Linked DNA regions of Homo sapiens: all the other regions are linked to region 1. The links are contacts of gene promoters, found by promoter capture Hi-C in human tissues and cell types (Jung and others, 2019). All regions are on one chromosome and are shown on one strand. The core of a region is centred on a gene start or on the middle of the fragment in contact, and the rest is flanking DNA. Distances in the headings are between cores, read along the strand shown. Region 1 holds the start of RPS19BP1 (ribosomal protein S19 binding protein 1). Region 2 overlaps TNRC6B (trinucleotide repeat containing adaptor 6B). Region 3 overlaps TNRC6B (trinucleotide repeat containing adaptor 6B). Region 4 overlaps TNRC6B (trinucleotide repeat containing adaptor 6B). Region 5 has its middle 43 kb from the start of TNRC6B-DT. Region 6 overlaps TNRC6B (trinucleotide repeat containing adaptor 6B). Region 7 has its middle 13 kb from the start of TNRC6B.

What was found. The method cuts DNA at HindIII sites, captures the fragments that hold promoters and counts their contacts. A contact is called where the count stands out against the background at its distance.
Region 2: a fragment that was not itself captured here is called in contact with the fragment with the promoter of RPS19BP1 in region 1 in 1 of the 25 tissues and cell types used here (lymphoblastoid cells).
Region 3: a contact is called between a fragment that was not itself captured here and the fragment with the promoter of RPS19BP1 in region 1, in 1 of the 25 tissues and cell types used here (dorsolateral prefrontal cortex).
Region 4: a contact is called between a fragment that was not itself captured here and the fragment with the promoter of RPS19BP1 in region 1, in 1 of the 25 tissues and cell types used here (lymphoblastoid cells).
Region 5: a contact is called between a fragment that was not itself captured here and the fragment with the promoter of RPS19BP1 in region 1, in 2 of the 25 tissues and cell types used here (heart left ventricle and mesenchymal stem cells).
Region 6: a fragment that was not itself captured here is called in contact with the fragment with the promoter of RPS19BP1 in region 1 in 1 of the 25 tissues and cell types used here (spleen).
Region 7: a contact is called between a fragment that was not itself captured here and the fragment with the promoter of RPS19BP1 in region 1, in 1 of the 25 tissues and cell types used here (dorsolateral prefrontal cortex).

Annotation. Positions count from the first base shown.
Region 1 is chr22:39,531,493-39,534,192 of GRCh38, forward strand. RPS19BP1 (ribosomal protein S19 binding protein 1) reads right to left here and starts at 1,256. Exons shown (of 4, transcript NM_194326.4): 1 at 1,195-1,256; 2 at 903-1,031. The coding sequence starts at 1,246. RefSeq lists enhancers at 470-985, 986-1,501, 1,291-1,350, 1,401-1,450 and silencers at 711-840, 1,021-1,180. The HindIII fragment of the contact is 6,935 bases long and covers 1-2,700 here.
Region 2 is chr22:40,304,085-40,306,784 of GRCh38, forward strand. All of the region lies in intron 15 of TNRC6B (trinucleotide repeat containing adaptor 6B), which reads left to right. Among named protein-coding and RNA genes, the nearest start is that of ADSL, 41 kb to the right of the region's middle. The HindIII fragment of the contact is 3,956 bases long and covers 1-2,700 here.
Region 3 is chr22:40,323,940-40,326,639 of GRCh38, forward strand. It overlaps TNRC6B (trinucleotide repeat containing adaptor 6B), which reads left to right. Exons shown (of 23, transcript NM_001162501.2): 23 at 1-2,700. Among named protein-coding and RNA genes, the nearest start is that of ADSL, 21 kb to the right of the region's middle. The HindIII fragment of the contact is 3,074 bases long and covers 1-2,700 here.
Region 4 is chr22:40,248,405-40,251,104 of GRCh38, forward strand. All of the region lies in intron 2 of TNRC6B (trinucleotide repeat containing adaptor 6B), which reads left to right. Among named protein-coding and RNA genes, the nearest start is that of TNRC6B, 72 kb to the left of the region's middle. The HindIII fragment of the contact is 4,738 bases long and covers 1-2,700 here.
Region 5 is chr22:40,086,640-40,089,339 of GRCh38, forward strand. It overlaps a transcript of TNRC6B not described here. Among named protein-coding and RNA genes, the nearest start is that of TNRC6B-DT, 43 kb to the left of the region's middle. The HindIII fragment of the contact is 3,769 bases long and covers 1-2,700 here.
Region 6 is chr22:40,273,976-40,276,675 of GRCh38, forward strand. The region is part of intron 7 of TNRC6B (trinucleotide repeat containing adaptor 6B); the gene reads left to right. It overlaps LOC124905121 (a long non-coding RNA gene), which reads right to left. Exons shown (of 2, transcript XR_007068107.1): 1 at 2,556-2,700. Among named protein-coding and RNA genes, the nearest start is that of ADSL, 71 kb to the right of the region's middle. The HindIII fragment of the contact is 7,274 bases long and covers 1-2,700 here.
Region 7 is chr22:40,163,383-40,166,082 of GRCh38, forward strand. It overlaps a transcript of TNRC6B not described here. Among named protein-coding and RNA genes, the nearest start is that of TNRC6B, 13 kb to the right of the region's middle. The HindIII fragment of the contact is 6,155 bases long and covers 1-2,700 here.

The sequences.
Region 1 (2,700 bases), core at 6-2,505:
TGTCTATTAAGTGACACTACGTCCCCCAAGAAACTAGGCTCCACCTTCACAGCCAATTCACCACTAAAACCCCTCTAAAGGCTGAAATTCTCTGCTGCCCCCTCTTTAACATATTTTCCACCTGCACAATTCTCTTGTTATCTCTGCTGCTATAGCCACTGCCCAGGCCACAGCATGTCCTATTTCAATGGAGTAGGTAATAGCAGCACTCTGGAGACACAATGCCCGGGCAGCCACAATGCCTGTACCACCTGGGCAGGTGCCTTTTTCTGAATCTGTAAAACGGGGGTGATAGTAGTATCGACCTCAAAGGGCTGCTGTAAGGATCAAACGAGCTTACATTTGTACAGCACTTAGAATCAGCACCTGGTACAGAGTGTTAGTGAATGTGTTTAAATGCTCCATCTTTGATCCTCATTCACTAGGTCACCTTTACCAGCCTTTATTTTTTCAAATTCTCAAAGGCAACAACCTCCTTTCTGACTCAGGACCTTTGCACATACTATTCTTCCTAGAATATTCTCCTACTTTTCACCTAGCTCACTCTTATACATCCTTCAGCTCTCGGCTGAAATGTCGCTTCCTCAGAGAAGGCTGACTTGGCCTAAGTCCCCATCAGAGTACCGTAGTCTTTTAATTCATAGGCTTCAATGCACTTAGCAATGACACACTGGGTTTGATATTCTTTGATGCTTCTCTCCCCACTAGGGCCGTAGTCCACGAGGACCAGGACGGTGGCGTGTTCTGTCACCTTCGTATGTCCAGGGCCCCGCTCCGCGCCTGGCACACAGTAGGTCTAGCAATACCGGGCGAACGCTTCAAGCCCTGCCTCAAGCGCCACCTCCTCTGGGGCGCAGGTCCCAGCACCGGAGGCAGCACTTTCAGCCCCTTCCCGAACTTACCCAGTGCCGACTTGGGCACCTTTCCCTTGGCCGAGTTCCGCAGTTTCTGGGCCTGAATTGCCTTCGTCTTCCGGGGCCGTTTCACCGGAGCCCCTCTCGGCTTGGCCTGACCTGGAGGGTCCCGGGGGGCTGTAGGGGAAGAGAGAGGAAGAGACCCAGGTCAGAGGGCGCGCAGCGTTCCCATGCCACTGGGGCTAAGCCCGGCCTGGATTGTTTTCCATCCAGGGCTCCCGCCCGCAGCCACTACCATCCTCCTGCCCGCGCCGGACGTCCCCTGGCCAGCCCTCCTCACCCTCGGACGCCGCCAGCAGCTCCAGGCCCCGCCGCAGCAGGGCGGCGGACATGGCGGCGCTTGGCTCCGCCCACGAGCCTCACACTACTTCCGACCTGGCAGTCCCTGTCGTCTCGGCGGAAACCCGAGCCCGAACAGAGGGATCCGGAGGGGGATGGGCGGAAGTGCCCATCTTTCTTAGGACGCATGCGTTAGGGGTTTACACTTGAGCGGAAGAAGGGGCGGAAACTGGAGGCGGGTCCAAGGCGCAGAAAGACACATGTGTTACTCAATCCCAATCTACCTGGCTCCTGGCGCTCAGTCCCCTCCTTCCCCGGAAGCCGTCCGCAACCTGCTCCGCCGGGTTGGCCAATCCTCTCGGGTCTCGTGGCTCCGTGGCGGGCTAGGATGGGGACAGGGCGGAGTGTTTTTCATATACTTCAACCAGCACTAGGTATCGCACAGGTTGAGTGCAGCATGAGAATCCAGTTGTCTTCCCTTAAGCCAGACATTAAAGACATATCTTTGTTTTGAAAACTACAATTATTTCTCATAAAATACGTTGTTTATGTTACCAAGCAATGGGTTTATTGTCATTTTAAGTGAATTAATGAATATGTAAAATTTTTGTTTTAGTTTCTAGTATGGCAAATATCAGTTGCCTACATACAAAAGTTCTTTGGGATCCTGAATTTTTTAAAATTTATTTTATTTAATTAAATTAATTTTTTTTTTGAGACGGAATCTCGCTCTGTCGCCCAGGCTGGAGTGCAGCGATCTCGGCTCACTGCAACTTCCGCCTCCCGGGTTCAAGCGATTCTTTTGCCTTAGCCTCCCGAGTAACTGAGATTACAGACGCCCGCCACCACGGCCGGCTAATTTTCTTTTTAAAAAATTTTTAGTAGAGACGGGGTTTTGCCATGTTGGCCAGGCTGGTCTTGAACTCCGGACCTCAAGTGATCCGCCCACCTCAGCCTCCCAAAGTGCTGGGATTACAGGAGTGAGGGGATTCTGAAGTTTTAAATGTAAGAAGCTTCTTAGACCAAAACATTTGAGCCCCTCTGGCCTAGAAGTGACACTGCTTACCTGGGGGAGGAGCCCTGGGCTTGTTCGCTGCTCCATCTGCAGCTGGCAGCCCAGCACCTGGCATGGAGAAGACACGCAATAAGTGAACGGTGAATCAGAAGGGACCACTGGGTTCACTCAGCCGGGTTCTGAGGGCCTTCTGTGTACTTGACACCACAGAGTGTGGGACCTGGAGTTCGTCCTCCGGGATAGACCACACCGTTTAAGCTCCATCGGCTAGAGAGTAATAATAACAACCAACACAAACTCAAGCATTTGTGCTGTTCTACGTGCTTTACATTTGTTAACTTGTTTATCCCCCCTACCCTTCCAGGTAGGAATTGTCTTTTGCATTTTACAGACGAGGAAACAAACACAGAGAGGCGAAGGTCACACGGGTGGAGTCAGGGGTGGGAGTTAAGACTGGCAGCCTGGCCGCAGGATTTGTGGGGGCGCTCCTGT
Region 2 (2,700 bases), core at 183-2,682, 770 kb after region 1:
GTAATGAAATGAACAGTCTTTCAGTTTTCCTGATGCTAAGTATGTTGAACTAAAAAGGATACCTCTAAGTGAAAGAGTAGCAAGAATAATTGAAAGTTTCTTAATATGTCTTGATAAAGCCTCTTTGTTACATTATCTCAAAATTAAGAATTTGAATGACTAATGACTGCTTAACTAATCCTTACTGATTCTTTTGTAAAACAGATGGTTTCTAATTCTGTCCTTTTAGCAAAATTGAAAATATACCTAATTGAGGTTGAGTGCGTGGCTCATGCCTGGTAATCCCAGCACTTTGGGAGGCCAAGGTGAAGAGTGAGAGGGAGAGGGAGACAGAGAGAAAGAATACCTAATTGAATTGTTAGGTGATAATGACCTATCTAAAAATTATATTTTAGTATCTGTGTTACTGGGCTAGGGGAAGGAACATATACTTTAAAAGAAATTCGAGAAGTAAGTTATAACAAGACTCCTTCTGTTCCCATCTACTTATTTATATGAGTCAAATTTCTTAGTGCTTTATGTCAACAAAGAAATTTAAAATAAGATGGTAGCGAAAATTCTCATTATAGTAAGGAGTGTTGGTTACCGTGGATATCTGAACTCATTTAGAAACAAAGTAATTCATCTTCTTAGAAAATGCATTTCTGATAAAATTTCACTTTTTATGTTTAAAATTTATCAAAATTTGTAATATTTATTTGGTATATCCCTGTGAAAAGTAAAGCTGAATAAATATTGGAGATTATAAAAATGACAGAAGAGTAATTGTATCTATGCTGCAATTATGATTGTGTCGATACCAAGTGTACATGTGGACACGGACTTAGAACAGTTGTGTTAGGATGGCCAATTATGGGTGATTTTTTAAAAATAATTATAGAAACTAGTTTGTTTTTTAATGTATAGCAAAAAGAGGAGCAGAAAACAGAACTGTAAACAGAGAGAGTGAAGGCAGGATCAGTGTAAGGACAAGTTAATTTAAGAGCATTTCCTCAAGGATGTAAGAATGGAGCCAAAAGTCGTGAACAGACCATGAATTAGGGTGTGTGGAGAATGAGAGAGAGTAATTCTAGCAAAGACGCATGAGGCAGGCAAAGGGTTGTCCTTGCATGAATGATAAAAGCAGGTGACAGGCAAGGGGCATGTCTTACCTCTACTTGTACCTCAGCTCCTAACACAGGGCCTGGCACAGATTACACTGTCCATAAATATTCATTGAACTGAACTAAATGGCTTAATTTGAGCTAAAGCTCTGTGTTGGTGAGAAATTTCAGGGAAACCACTTGGTGGACTAAGGAAATTTTGTTTTGCTGTAGTGGAAAGTACAATACAGTCAGTATTTTCTTGGGTTTAGAGATACGACAGCTTGTAAATAGCCGAAGGTCACTAGCGAAGCACCATCTCTTCTTTGTTAGTGCACCCACTAGAGCACAGTGTCCCAGAATTCCTTCCATCAAAATGCATCAGACACATTCCATATCCTAGCGTCAGGCTGGTTACTACGTGACATCAAAGAAAATTATGTCCGTCTTCGCCTGATTTTTCCTCTCATACTTTGGGGTTTGTAGATTGAACCTTTCAAGGCAATTTTCTCACCTATTCTTTCTCTTACCCCTTGGATTATTTTTCCTGACCAAACCTTGTGAGGCAGCGCTGGGACTGCCCTACTGTGGTGGCATTTGATCCCCAAGTCTCTAATGAGAAAAGTGCCCGCTTTCTCTAAGGTTCTTGCCTTTCCTTGCTTGCTTACTTTTTCTTTCTCTTTCTCTTTCTTTCTCTCATTCATTTTCTTTCCTTCTTTCCTCTTATGTTTCTCTTTTTTCGCTTTTTTCTTTCTTTGCCCTTTTGCTATAACTTTAATTTTCTGCATTTCATTTGTCACCAAAAAAGCTCTAAGCAGCTGAAATTAAAGAAATTTAATTCACTGGCTGGGCGCGGTGGCTCACACCTGTAATCCCAGCACTTTGAGAGACCGAGGCGGGCGGCTCACAAGGTCAGGAGATTGAGACCATCCTGGCTAACACGATGAAACCCCGTCTCTACTAAAAATACAAAAAAAATCAGCGAGTGTGGTGGCAGGCACCTGTAGTCCCAGCTGCTCGGGAGGCTAAGGCAGGAAAATCGCTTGAACCCAGAGGCGAAGGTTGCAGTGAGCCAAGATTGTGCCGCTGCACTCCAGCCTGGGCGACAGAGCGAGACTCCGTCTCAAAAAAAGAAAAGAAAGAAAAAAAGAAATTTAATTCACTATGGGTTTTATAGAAATTTTAGAGTAACTTCAAAGAAAATTAATGTGTAAGGAATGGTTCCTCCTCTTCTTAGTAATGCTAGTATTCTTTTTAATCTTTGCCAGAATCCTAGGTTATTTCCAAAAACTCTTTCTCAATGATTAGAACTGAGCTTTCAGGTGGCCTGGAATCCAAGCACCTTGGCCTGGTTTTCTCAAAGGCAGAAGTGTAATTTACTCAAGGAGCAACCTGCTTAGGCCATTAAGGCTATGTCAGAGAAAACCTTTGTTCCTTGCAACCTTCCTGCCCTGCAATCTAATTTCATTTCTGCTACCCAGGATGAAAGAAATTTAAAAATGCCTCAAACTCTTCTTTAAAAAAAATAAATAAATAAGGCCAGGCACGGTGGCTCATGCCTGTAATCCCAGCACTTTGGGAGGCAGAGGTGGGCAGATTGCCTGAGCTCAGGAGTTCT
Region 3 (2,700 bases), core at 53-2,552, 790 kb after region 1:
TGCCTGTGTTCTTCCCTTCTCCCCTGCCCCACCCTGACTTCTCAGAAAGCTGCATCGCTGACAGTCTGCAGGCTGGCTGGCCGGCCCATCTGCTTTTTATTTTATTTTTTTAACTATGAGAACACACAGGCCCGGAGAGCCACTGCTACTAAAGCAACTCCATTGGGCTGCATTAAGATGAACAGAGTGCTTTTTAATGATGAAAGCAGGGAGCTCCTTTCCATTTGCAACTTAGCCTGAATGTGGGGTTTCTCTGGCTGTTCTTTTGACCTAGCAGTAGAGTGGAGCACTGCCAAGTCCAAAAAACTAGAGCAGGAGGTACCTCTTGGAGCAACGGTGTGTTTATTTCTGTTTTTTTTTTTTTTTAAGTGAATGGCCACCAGGCACATCTGAGTATCTGTTAAGTTTCATGCAGGCCTTTTCGTTAGTTTGAAATGGGAACGGAAGATAACTTTTGATGATGCGATGTCTCAAAAACAGAGAAACTTTGTTCCCTCTTTCCTTATGATCAGGTTTGAGAAATTCTTCAAAAAATTAGGTGAAGTTGAGTTACATATTTCTGTTGGTTGGTTCTCTTTTTCATTTTATGAAAACAGAAAAGAATAAGTGGTGAGCAGCCTCCTGAAAGCATCTGCAGCTACTCCCTCTGCTCCTTTCTCGCCGAGCGTTACCTGTGCCAGGCCGTGGCGCGTTACAGCACCAGGCCATCACTGACAGAAACGTTTACTTAACGAATGTTCTTAAACCAGTGTGTACTTCAAGCGTTTCCTTTTGTTTCTCTGTGTTGTGTATTTCCTGTGTATGTGGTTTTGCTTAGGCAGGTATAACTTAGCGAAGACTTTTAAGTATTGCACCTTTTTTTGATTTTTGACCTCTTCCCCCCACCTTGTAATTTTGCTTTTTTAATTTCGGTATTTAAATACTTTTTTTTTTTTTTAAGCATCAATGTAGTAGTACTCTGGGCCGAACAGGGGTCAACGTTTAATCTACAGTTATCACCAACATGTATGTACTTATGTCGGAATCAAAATGTATCAAACTGCTTATTGTGAAGAGAATTATAGCAGACCTGAAGGGGGCGAAAAACCAGATAGGGTGGGGGGATGGATGCCGGTGACGTGCTAGCACTTGTGTGGACATCCCAGTCTGCATTATGCTGTTTAACATAAAGTGCCGACATTTTGTACCAGCAAATACCTGCCCATTCCAACCCTTGGTGGGAGCAGACCTCTACTGTCCTCTGTAACTTGCTGCTATTGAGGACAAGGGAGTTTTTCTTTCTTTAGCGTCTTCAGTGAAGGATACAATACAACAATGCCTAATGTATTTGACTTTTTAGCTTGTGTCTGTGTGTAGGTGGGTGGGTGGGTGTGTATAGGAAAAGCCTAAAACAAGTTATTTGCATTTCAGTGGTTTTGTGAGACAAAGAATGGGAAATTCTGTAGCCCTTCTGGCTTACCCTGTTGATTATAAACCTAGCCTCAAAAGAGATTGACAGGCATGACTCAAGTGAGTGTTCACATATACAAGCCTGCATGAGCCCTCTGTGGGTAGGTGGTCACACTTGGCATCTGCAGCATTGACGTGGCCCCGCTGGGTGCCTTGAGCATGCCCTCTTCCTGCTCTGCAATTTGAATCACCACCGTGCCCCTTCCACCACTGTTCCCCATGCAAAAGCTCTGCTTCCAGCAGCCCCCACTGACCGCTCTCTGTGTGGAGCAAAGTGCTGTCGTGCGGTGACCACCAGGTGAAGAGCAGCTTGTATTCAGACATCTAGAGAAGGTTAAATCTTAGTGTCCCTGGGCCAGGAGCATATCCCAAGGCTCCTGCGAGCCAGTGGCGACCCTGTCCACTGCCGCTCTTGGTTCACTGCTGTGTCCTGCCCCACCCTCCTCTCCTCCTGCCTGTTGGTTCCTTGACCTGCACTATGGGTTAGTTGAGTTCCTTACGATACTACGGTGAAAGCCGGGTGCTAGAGCCCCTCTTGTTTACAAGACATAATGAGGGATTTGAAATATGTAAAAATAAACATGAGAAGCTAAAATGTTCTTCCATCATAAGCTTAAAGGGAAAAAAACTAAAAACTTTAAAAAAAAAAGACCAAAAAGTGCGTATATATATACATATAAATATATATTTTAGATGAAGACTAACTCTGGGAGCATTTAACAGTGTTTTTTGTTTCTGTTTTTAACATTTGTTTTCCTGCTTTAAAATTTGCAAGCATTCTCAGGAATTCTAGGGTAGGAAGCCAGTTTTTTGAAGATGGTTTATTTAACCATATCTTATCCTAGAGAGATGGCTGTTTCTTTCCTGTTAATAAACTTTTACAAGTTCCTGAAACTTCAGAAAGTTTAAACAATTTTTACTTAAAAAAATGTAAAAAGAAAAGTCTCCAAACATTATTGTCATACTGGGGATCACACATTTTAAAACACATAGAAATATTTTTTAAAAATTATCAATTTAGCAGCAACAGGTAAATTCATTATCTTAAAAATATGGGAGAAGGATTAAGCTTTGTAAGAGCTCGATCATGGATTCTTTTGAAATTGTGTGTAGTTTAATGGGAGAGTGTTTGGTGTATATAGATGAGAATGCCATCACTTTGTTCCTTTCCATTTGAGACTGAACTGAAATCTCCCCTAGTAATTTTTATTTTTTTAAAGGAACCCTTCTCCTTGTCCCCACAACCCCAGC
Region 4 (2,700 bases), core at 68-2,567, 720 kb after region 1:
AGGTACTTGAGCAAAGGCTGTTAACAAGAGGATGCCAAACAGAGTGATTTAGAGAGTATATATTCCTCTTCATTTTTAACATACATAACAGTGTTTTCTTAAACTACAAATATCAATACCTAAAATGATTAATAAAATATGCCTCTGTAATATGCCTTTGATTGGATTCCACAAAGAAAAATGATTTAAAATAAAGATGGTGTGAATGTACTTGAGAGTGAATGAGATTATTTATGCAGAGAATGTAGTTTATGTAGCTGGACAGTCTCTCCTATGTGCCTTCATCTGCATTAAGAACTGATGAAGAAGTGATAGCAAAGGGGAAAATTACCGTAAATAAAATTTTTAAGTGATTAATTTTATGAACAATAAAAATTCTATCGTTTTTGCTCAAAAATGTTCCAGATCAGCTTGACATAGAATCTAGGCTGACGCAGGCTGATGCGTGGCCTTTGATCTTGTTTTATTATACTGAACCATTGCATAATTTCAGAATTAAATTCTGATTTAGCAGTTTTAAGGAGAGCACAAAGCTTACCATGTGATTATCTTCGTGGTTTCCAACCTTATTGTAGAGACATCACCTCAGCTAGGAGCCATAAAATGTGCTATGATGCAAAGAATCGTGGAGAACGTGCCAGAGATCTATCATGTGGTCAGTGGTTCATTCATTCGGTCCGCAAACATTTGTGGTGCCTCTTCTAAGGGCTTCCACATCTCTCATGCTGCTTTCCCCAGTGCTTTTTGACCACCTCTTTGTGTCCATCTTCACTGTTAGACTGACTGTAAGTTTCTTGGTTTTATTCGTATTTGTATGGCCAGTAACTAGGGCAGTGCCTGGTGCAGGATAATCACTCAGAAATTGTTTAATAAGTGAATGGTCAAGAATGAAGGTGGAAACATAATTTTCTTGAAGAATTGACACTTACTTAAAGCTAAAACTAAATTACCTCCACACAGAAATTAAGCATGAGCCTTTTCCAGTGTTCATTGGTTGTAGCAGTTGGCTCTTCCTGGAGCCATCACTGAGTAAACTGGTAGATACCCATTCATGAGAGAGGTGTCAAAGAAGGGTTCCATTCACATTCATTTAGGCTGATGCTGCTAAAGGAGCATTGTTTAGCGTTGGCAGAACACATGCTTTGATCATCCAGCTTCTCGCCGTCTGGGGGACAGCTTTTAACAGAACCCACATGATAAAACATATTTGACATTATTTGGGCTTGTTGCTTACAATGGGAAGGCACTGACTTCCTGTATAACTGATCTTCAAAATGGCATTCTAAGAAATAGTTACAATGATATAAAACCTAAATTGCCTTCGGGAATTGGTATGTGGCTGCATTGTCATTCATTCTTGGATAAGTAAAGATGTAGAAAAATTACACAAGAATATTTTCAGTAGAATTGAGCTCTGTAACAGTACTGGGAAACATTCATTTTTAAGATGCTGGATTCCACAAATTCACTGTAATAGAATTAGCTTGTCATTTAACACAGGAATGTAGGAAACACACCAGGAAGTTCTACAGGCGGATCCTTTAACTCTTATTTAGAGTCTGATGGTGTGCTGGGATCCATTGCGAGGTGGGCTGGTCAGCTACAGGACCTTCCTTCCAGGGATGATTGTGTTTTTGTGAACCCCCATGGCCGTAATCCAGTACGATTACCAGCCACAAATCATCAGACTTCTTCTTTGCTATATGAATATTTTTATTACAAAAGTCAGATAACCAAGTAAAAATGCTTTAAAAGATTAACAGTTGGGAAAATGGGTCAGAATCACCCACAATCTCAAAAATTTAGTGTAACCACTATTGGAACAATGGCTTAGTTCCTTTTGGATGTTTTGCTTGTGCATCACCTTTGTGGTTTTATTGTTATAAATTAGATGCCCTCCTTTATTTTCCCCTCTTAAAAATATCAGAAGCAGTTTTCTGTAAGGCTCCTAATCATCATTTCCAAACTCTCTGAAGTCCATTACTATGTTCAGCCTGTCCAGCCTTCTAGGTTAATCATTTCCATAGACGTATTAGTTACTATATAAAGAAATACTTTCTTTTTTTTTTAACAAAGCACCCTTGATTTGTCCAAAATTTACATATTTCAATCTTACTGCTGTACTTCATGCTATTTTATATAAGTGTTGATAATAACAGCAAACATTTATTGAGCACTGCATAGCATATCTGATTTAATCCTTACAGCAGTCCTTTGCAGGGTTTATACTATTATTATCTCCATTCAATAGATAATAGAAAACTGGGGGTCTCATAGCCAGAAAGTGACAAGGTTTGGTTTTGAATCCTGCTTTCCGACCATGACGTCTGATGCCTCTGATGATGAGTCCCTGAGGTTTTGCTTTTAGATTTCAGATCAAGTGTTTGTGTCTATACTCATAGGGGAATCTTTTTGTGTCTATGGCTAATTTAGTTTCTGGGCCACATTCATGTGATTTTTCTCTAGTCATAGCATTCAAAATGCAAGTAGCATTCTCAGTGGGACCTCATCGTATAATGAGTGGAATGCTTTTTTTTTTTTTTTTTTAAGTTTTACTATTCTTCCTAATGGTGGTCATGTAAATTATAGCTGGACATATGGCCACAGTCTCTGGAAGGATGTCTGAACTGACTCCCAGCTCCTTTTTCTGGATTTCAGCTATGCCTGTGTGCCTGACAGCTTGGATTACTTGAGTTATCA
Region 5 (2,700 bases), core at 154-2,653, 560 kb after region 1:
CTTATCAGAATATCTGTAGAGTTCAAAAGATGTCTTCTTTCACCTTGAATTTGAATGGAGAGAAATTCAATTTTTTCTTCTATGAAATATGGAGTGTTTTCGTTTGTCGTTAGAGAAAAAGGAAAACAAAGGTTTTAGATAGAAATAAAATGAAGCCTTAACTCCCCTTTAAAATTGATTGTCCTCTCTCTGCCATACTTTGTTCATCATGTCCAGTGAAGAGAGATGCTAATAAGCTTTTCATATTTCCAGCTACATAAAAACCAGGCAGTGTTTAAAGATTATCATTATAGCATTTGTTTGATGTATTTCTTAAGTCTTTTTTTTATCTCCAGGTCCCCCGTCCCTGTAGGCTCCCCTCTCACAGACACAAGCCTTCTTCCTGGCATTTTTAGGAGGGCCTGGTGTTGTGTTTGGAAAATTTTGCTTTATTATATATCCTCAGCTTATACTGCATCAGTAGTGAAAAGCTTAGTTTTGTGTTTGGTGTAAGTAATGTGTTTCTGGATATTTTTATCATAAAAACTCATTATAGATAAGAGATGGAAATATATCATTAGAATGATTGTATATTTAAATTATGAATCAAGTTAGAGGAGAATGGAATATTGCCCCCTTATGGGAAGACTCTGGAATGTAGAAATTTTTTTCAGTATGTAACAACTTGGTCCTGCCTTCTTTCCCAGTGTTCAGGATCTAATTCAGCCATTTTATACATGATATGTTAAGCTTTTCATTAATTCAGTTATTCATTTGACACATACTGAGCACCAGAGTAATACCAGGCATGGTACTAGGAAATGAGAATAAAGAAATAAGAAACACACATGCTAAACTGACCATTTTCTAGTGGGAGAAAGACAATTATATATGTAATTCCAAACACTGGTAAGTGCATTTTAGGAAAAATACAGGGAGCTGTAAGAGTGATTAACTGGGGGGAGCCTGGCTTAGTCTGAGAGGACAGAAAGGCCTTTCTGACAAAGTAACATTTAAGCAAAGATTTAAAGGAAAAGTAGGCATTGGCCAGGTGATCATTGGGTCCAGAGCCTTCAAGCAAAGGGGCTAGCTATGTGTGAAGGTCCTGAGGGAGGAAAGAGCTTGAAGCCTTGGGGGACCTGGGAATGCTAGTGAGGCTGGAGACTGAGAGGGAGGCAGGGAATTAGGAGAGGAGCTGGAGATGTAGGCAGGGCCCTCATCACAGAGGCTGCTGTTGGCCTCCATCTCCGTTACAGATGTACAGCGTTTGGTGACCCAGACTAGAGACCAGACATAATACTTTTCAGGACCTCTTGGTCCTCCTGGGAGATGCTGGGAACTCTGAGTTCAGCTTTTCTCTCCTATTTCTCGAGGGTCCTTTGTTAATAAAGAAATATTTTTAAAATTATTCCTGCTTACCTTGTACTTAAGAGTGAAAGAAACTTTTAATAAACGGAATTATTTTTGGCTAATCTTCAGAAACCTTCACTCCAAGGATGAACTCATAAAAAGTTGTACCTTTAAAAGACTTTCCTATCTCGTCTCATCCTCACAGCGACCTTATAAGGTGGATATTTACTATTTTTCACATCATACAGAAAAGAGACTGAAGCTCTGAAAAATTAGGTAGTTCCTCAAGGCCAGCTAATAGGTGGTGAAGCAGGAACTGGACAGCGGGCCTTCTGACTACAGACCCAGTGGTGTTTGTGCTCTGTTCTTCCACTTACTATGAATGCAAGAGCTTCTACATATTTTGATCTCAGTATCTGCAACTTATTTATTTTGTTTTCTTTGTTGTTGTTGTTGTTTTTGAGACAGAGTCTCACACTGTTGCCCAGGCTGGAGTGCAGTGGTGCAGTCTCAGCTTACTGCAACCTCCGCCTCCTAGATTCCAGCAATTCTCCTGCCTCAGCCTCCTGAGTAGCTGGGATTATAGGCACCTGCCACCATGCCCGGCGGCTACTTTTGTGTGTGTGTGTGTGTGTGTGTGTGTGTGTGTGTGTGTGTGTGTGTTTTAGTAGAGACGGGGCTTCACCATGTTGGTCAGGCTGGTCTCTAACTCCTGACCTCAGGTGATCCACCCACCTTGGCCTCCTGAAGTGCTGGGATTACCTGTGTGAGCCACCTTGCCCAGCCAATTTATATTTTTTTAATGGAAGAATAAATCATACAAGCTTAAAAATTATGAGAGAAGGAGGAAGGAAATAGGGTAGAGGGGACAGGGAGAGAAGCTAGACTGCCTTAAATATGGTTGATAGCTTTTTTAAATGGAAAATGAGAAACAAGTAAACCTAAATTTTAAACCTCACTAATTCGAACTTTACATTCTTAGTGGGTATATGCCCTGAGAGTGAAAAAAGAACTGCAACAAACAGTAGCAACAACAACAAAGTCCTTCAACTGTACTCATGTGGAACATACCAGTGATCTTGTTAGTACTATTTTGAGATTGTTGTTGAGTGTATATTGTCAGAAAAAAACAAATGAGTAATTATGTGGTACTTTATAATTTCCACTGTTTTGAGATCCAGATTCCCAACATGGGTGAAAGGAGATACAAATATAAAATAAAAGAGGTTAAATAAAACCCTGTTAACTTGATTTCTTCATAGACTTTTTTTTTCTTTTTTTTGAGATGAAATCTCACTTTGTCACCCAGGCTGGAGCGCATTGGTGTGATCTTGGCTCACTGCAACCTCCGCCTCCCGTGTTCAAGCGATT
Region 6 (2,700 bases), core at 183-2,682, 740 kb after region 1:
GAGGCAACTGGGGTCCTCAAGGTCCTAAGTAAGGGGAAAAATATTTTCTTGGAAACAAATAACTACTTCCCTTTTACCCTTCGTCTTGCTTTCCCATGACCTTGAAACCTTGAACTATAAAACTGTTGCTGTGGGTAAAATGAAGTTTTCAAAGATACGAGATATTTTTCATTTTTAGTTTCCACATTATAATAATCTTTTGGAGGCTCTCAAGGCATACTTTATAAATGCTTTTGCATTCTAAAGCCAGAGAAGTCCTTCCAGTAAATCCCCATAGATATGTAGGAGGGAATCCAGAGGAAGATAATGCTGGCTTCTCCCGCGGCAATCAGCACGTCTTGATTTTATCTGATTTGGGAAATTCCAAGACCCAGAACCCTTCTCCCGACAAATGAAATACCAGTGAGTACTTGTGTGCTATAGCAGCTAAATGATTAATGATATCTCTTTTTTTTTTTTTTTTGAGACGGAGTCTTGCTCTGTCGCCCAGGCTGGACTGCAGTGGTGCAGTCTCAGCTCACTGCAAGCTCTGCCTCCCAGGTTCACACCATTCTCCTGCCTCAGCCTCCCGAGTAGCTGGGACTACAGGCAGCTGCCACCACGCCCGGCTAATTTTTTGTATTTTTAGTAGAGATGGGGTTTCACCATGTTAGCCAGGATGGTCTCGATCTCCTGACCTCGTGATCCCGTCCACCTCGGCCTCCCAAAGTGCTGGGATTACAGGCGTGAGCCTCTGCGCCCAGCCTAGCAGCTAGATGATTTCTCTACATCATGTACCAGGTTGTGTACTAAACTTTTCACCTTCTGTGTGAAAGTCCTCATCACAGTTTGATGAGGACTTTGGTTTTCAATCTAGAACAGTAGTCTTTGAGCCTGAACCAGTGTCTTCGCAGACCCTCTCTTTTTTCAATTCCAGATTTTCGTTTGACAAATAAAATAGTGGAAATACGAAATGGGCATCCAATACTTAACTTCAACATGAGAGTCTTGGCACCCTATGAAACGGTTCACAGCTAATATTCTCCCACGTTTCAAATACCAGATGCCATCTTAGAGGCCTTCCCATGTCTGAGGATTGGGCCTTCATCCCCTTTGCCCTTTGCCTATAGGACACTAATTTTGTAGATGACTCTTTCTTTTATAGCATAAGAATACAGTCTGTTTCTGTTTAGAGATGTTTTGCTTAAGCAGTCACTTACGGGTTTTCTTCTATTAAGAGCTTTTATTTCTTCAGTCACAGAAGGAATTATTCAGCAAACTTTTCAGCATTCCTTGCACTCTTAGGTTGTCTAGTGTGATTTTGGCTTTCTTTTGGTTATTTACAAATTAACAATGAGACTAAATTAACTGATTGAAAGGGACTAATAAATACCTCTCTAGGTTGACAACCAAGATTTAATTAAGTTAATTGGGAATTGACTCTTTCAGCCCCAGTACCAGTGATTCTGACTTTATATACCGAGGGCGTTTTTTTTAAAAATTGTGATAAAATACATATAACATATAATTTACCATAGCGTACATTTTTAAGTGTACAGTTCAGTGGCAATAAGTATATTCACATACTTATGTTGCCATTTACCACCATCTATCCGCAGAACTCTTTCTATCTTACAAAACTGAACTCTGTACCTATTAAACAGTAACTCCCCATTCCCCCCTCCCTCTAGTGAGGGCTTTTTTGACCTTAAAACCTGTACTAGCTGGCTGCGGTGGCTCATGCCTGTAATCCCAACACTTTGGGAGGCTGAGGCAGGTGAATCACCTGAGGTCAAGAGTTCAAGACCAGCCTGGCCAACATGGCAAAACCCCGTCTCTACTAAACCTACAAAAATTAGCTGGGTGTGGTGGCAGGCAGCTGCAATCCCAGCTACTTGGGAGGATGAGGCAGGAGAATTGCTTGAACCCAGGAGGTAGAGGTTGCAGTGAGCCGAGATCGCGCCATTGCACTCCAGCCTGGGTGACAAGAGCGAAACTCAGTCTCAAAAAAAAAAACCGCCCCCCACACACACACCAAAAAAACCTGTACTAAACTTAAGTACTTCGTCACTTTCAAGGATAATAAAATTGATTTGATGACTACCATCACGGGCTGGGCACGGTGGCTCACACCTGTAATCCCAGCACTTTGGGAGACCGAGGCAAGCGGATCACGAGGTGAGGAGATGGAGACCATCCTGGCTAGCATGGTTAAACCCCATCTCTACTAAAAATACAAAAAATTAACCGGGCATGGTGGCGGGTGCCTGTAGTCCCAGCTACTCGGGAGGCTGAGGCAGGAGAATGGCGTGAGCCCGGGAGGCAAAGCTTGCAGTGAGTTGGGATGGCACCACTGCACTCTAGCCTGGGTGACAGAGAAAAAAAAAAAAAAAGATAGCTATCATCACAACATAGAGAATTTTCACCTGTGAAATACACAACTGCACAAAGCCCCAGCCCACCCAGTCCTCTTCATAGTTCCCCCTGCTTCCCTCACAGAAGTGAAAGTGGAGCTCATGGTCAGTGCCTTGTTCAGGGGAGAAACTAGTTTGTCCCATTAAAAAATTAAAACCTACCTCTGCCCTACTTTGCCCAGGAGATCAGCAATGGTGTCTTCCACTAGGTCTCTTTACCACCAGGACCAATGTCTTTTATGCTGTGAAACAAACAGAGGAAGCACTATGAGTTCCTTATAATGCCCAGTTTAAATAGGCTCCTTTC
Region 7 (2,700 bases), core at 47-2,546, 630 kb after region 1:
ACAAGACCCTGTCTCAAAAAAAAAAAAAAAAAAAAAAAGTAATTTTAATAGATGACAGAATGAGACCCTGTCTCAAAAAAAAAAAAAAAAAAAAAAAAGGCCAGGCACGGTGGCTCACGCCTGTAATCCCAGCACTTTGGGAGGCCGAGGCGGGCAGATCACCTGAGGTCAGGAGTTCAAGACCAGCCTGGCCAACATGGAGAAACCCGTCTATACTAAAACTACAAAATTAGCCAGGTGTGGTGGCGCATGCCTGTAATCTCAGCTACTCGGGAGGCTGAGGCAGGAGAATCACTTGAACCCGGGAGGTGGAGGTTGCAGTGAGCCAAGATGGCATCATTGCAATCCAGCCTGGGCAACAAGAGCGAAACTCTGTCTCAAAAACAAAAAGAAAGAAAAGAAAAGGGTAACTTTAATAGATAATGTGTTTCACAATTTTATTTTATTTTTTTATTTTATTTAATTTTATAAATAAAATAAGGGGAGGGGAGGCTCAAGGCAGAAAAGATCAGGTTAAAGCTTTATGCTAGATCTTCGGCTCTATGAGGATGGATTTCTGTTGTCTTGGTCACTGCCTAGAGAGGTGCCTGGCACAAAAAGCATCTATAAATATATGTTGAATGAATAAGTTCCCATCGACTGTTAAGAATCCCTCTTCTACACACTCACTTTGAAATCTGAGGTGGTGTTATTATAAAGCCTAATTCCAGAATATTTTATCTGTTATCAGCAGAAGAAAGGTACATTGAAGCACTTTGGGAGGCCGAGGCAGGTGGATCACTTGAGGTTAGGAGTTCAAGACCAGCCTGACCAGCATGGTGAAAACCCATCTCTACTAAAAAGAAAAAAAAAAAAATTAGCCAGGTGTGGTGGTGGGCTCCTGTAATCCCAGCTACTCGGGAGGCTGAGGCAGGAGAATCACTTGAACCTGGGAGGCGGAGGTTGCAGTGAGCAAACATCACACCACTGCAGTCCAGCCTGGGCGACAGAGTGAGACTCTGCCTTTAAAAAAAAAAAAAAAAAAAGGGCATTGTTAACATGTTAACATGTCATGTTCCACTTTATTTTTTTTTAATTAATTTTTTTTAATTTTATTTTGACCAGGCACAGTGGCTCAATGCCTATAATCCAGCATATTGGGAGGCCAAGGCGGGTGGATCACCTGAGGTCAGGAGTCCAAGACCAGCCTGACCAACATGGAGAAACCTGGTCTGTACTACAAATACAAAATTAGCCCAGGCATGGTGGTGCATGCCTGTAATCCAAGCTACTAGGAGGCTGAGGCAGGAGAATCGCTTGAACCTGGGAGGCAGAGGTTGTGGTGAGCCGAGATCGCGCCATTACACTCCAGCCTGAGCAACGAGTAAAATTCTGTCTCAAAAAAAAAAAAAAAAAAGTTTTTTTTTTTTTTTCCCTGAAATAGCGTCTCACTCTGCCCAGGCTGGAGTGCAGTGACACGATCTTGGCTCACTCACTGCAACCTCCGCCTCCAGGGTTCAAGCTGTTCTCCTGCCTCAGCTTCCCAAGTAGCTGGGATTACACATACCCACCACCACGCCTGGCTAATTTTTGTATTTTTAGTAGAGACACGGTTTCAGCATGTTGGCCAGGCTGGTCTCAAACTCCTGACCTCAGATGATCCGCCTGCCTCAGCCTCCCAAAGTGCTGGGATTACAGGTGTGAGCCACCGCACCCACCCCTCCCCCCGGCTCTTTTTTTTTTTTTTTTTGAGACAGGGTCTTACTTTGTCACCCAAGCAGTGCAATGGTGCAATTTGGGCTCACTCAAGCCTCAACCAAAAAAATTCTTTTTGAGACAGGGTCTCTCGCTGTCACCCAGGTTGGAGTGCAGTGGCATGGTCATGGCTTATTGCAGCCTCCACCTCCTGGACTCAAGCAATCCTCCCACTTTAGCCTCTGGAGTAGCTAGTACTACAGGCACGCACTACCATGCCTGGCTAATTTTTTTGTTTTTAGTAGCGACAAAGCCTGACTATGTTGCCAGGCTGGTTTTGAACTCCTGGACTCAAGCAGTCCTCCCACCTCAACCGCCCAAAGTACTTGGATTACAGGCATGAGCCACCATGCCCAGTCATCAACTTTAGATTCAGTCCTTTCTTGAATATGTTCCAACAGACCTGATTTTATCTTCGTTCTCCTTAAGCATCCTACCTATAGGCCAGTGTATTAGTCCATTCTCATGCTGCTAATAAAGAACTTCCTGAGACTGGGTAATTTATAAAGGAAAGAAGTTTAATTGACTCACACATCCACATGGCTGAGGAGGCCTCAGGGAACTTACAACCATGGCGTAAGGGAAAGCAAACATGTCCTTCTTCACTTGGCGGCAGAAAGGAGAAGTGCTGAGCAATGGGGGGGAAAGCTCCTTATATAACCATCACATCTCATGAGAACTCACTATCACAAGAACAGCATGAGAGTAACCACCCCCATGATTCAGTTACCTCCCACTGGGTCCCTCCCACAACACATGGAGATTATGGGAACTACAGTTCAAGATGAGATTTGTGTGGGGACACAGCCAAACTGTATCAGCCAGTTATCAGTTATTGGGTGGTTTTTTTTGTTGTTGTTTTGTTTTGTTTTGTTTTTGGGCAGAAAATGCCTTTCTAGCCAAGTCTGAACCTTTTCTTCTAAGGACCTCCCTAAGATGCTATTAGCCTGTCTATGCATATTTTCA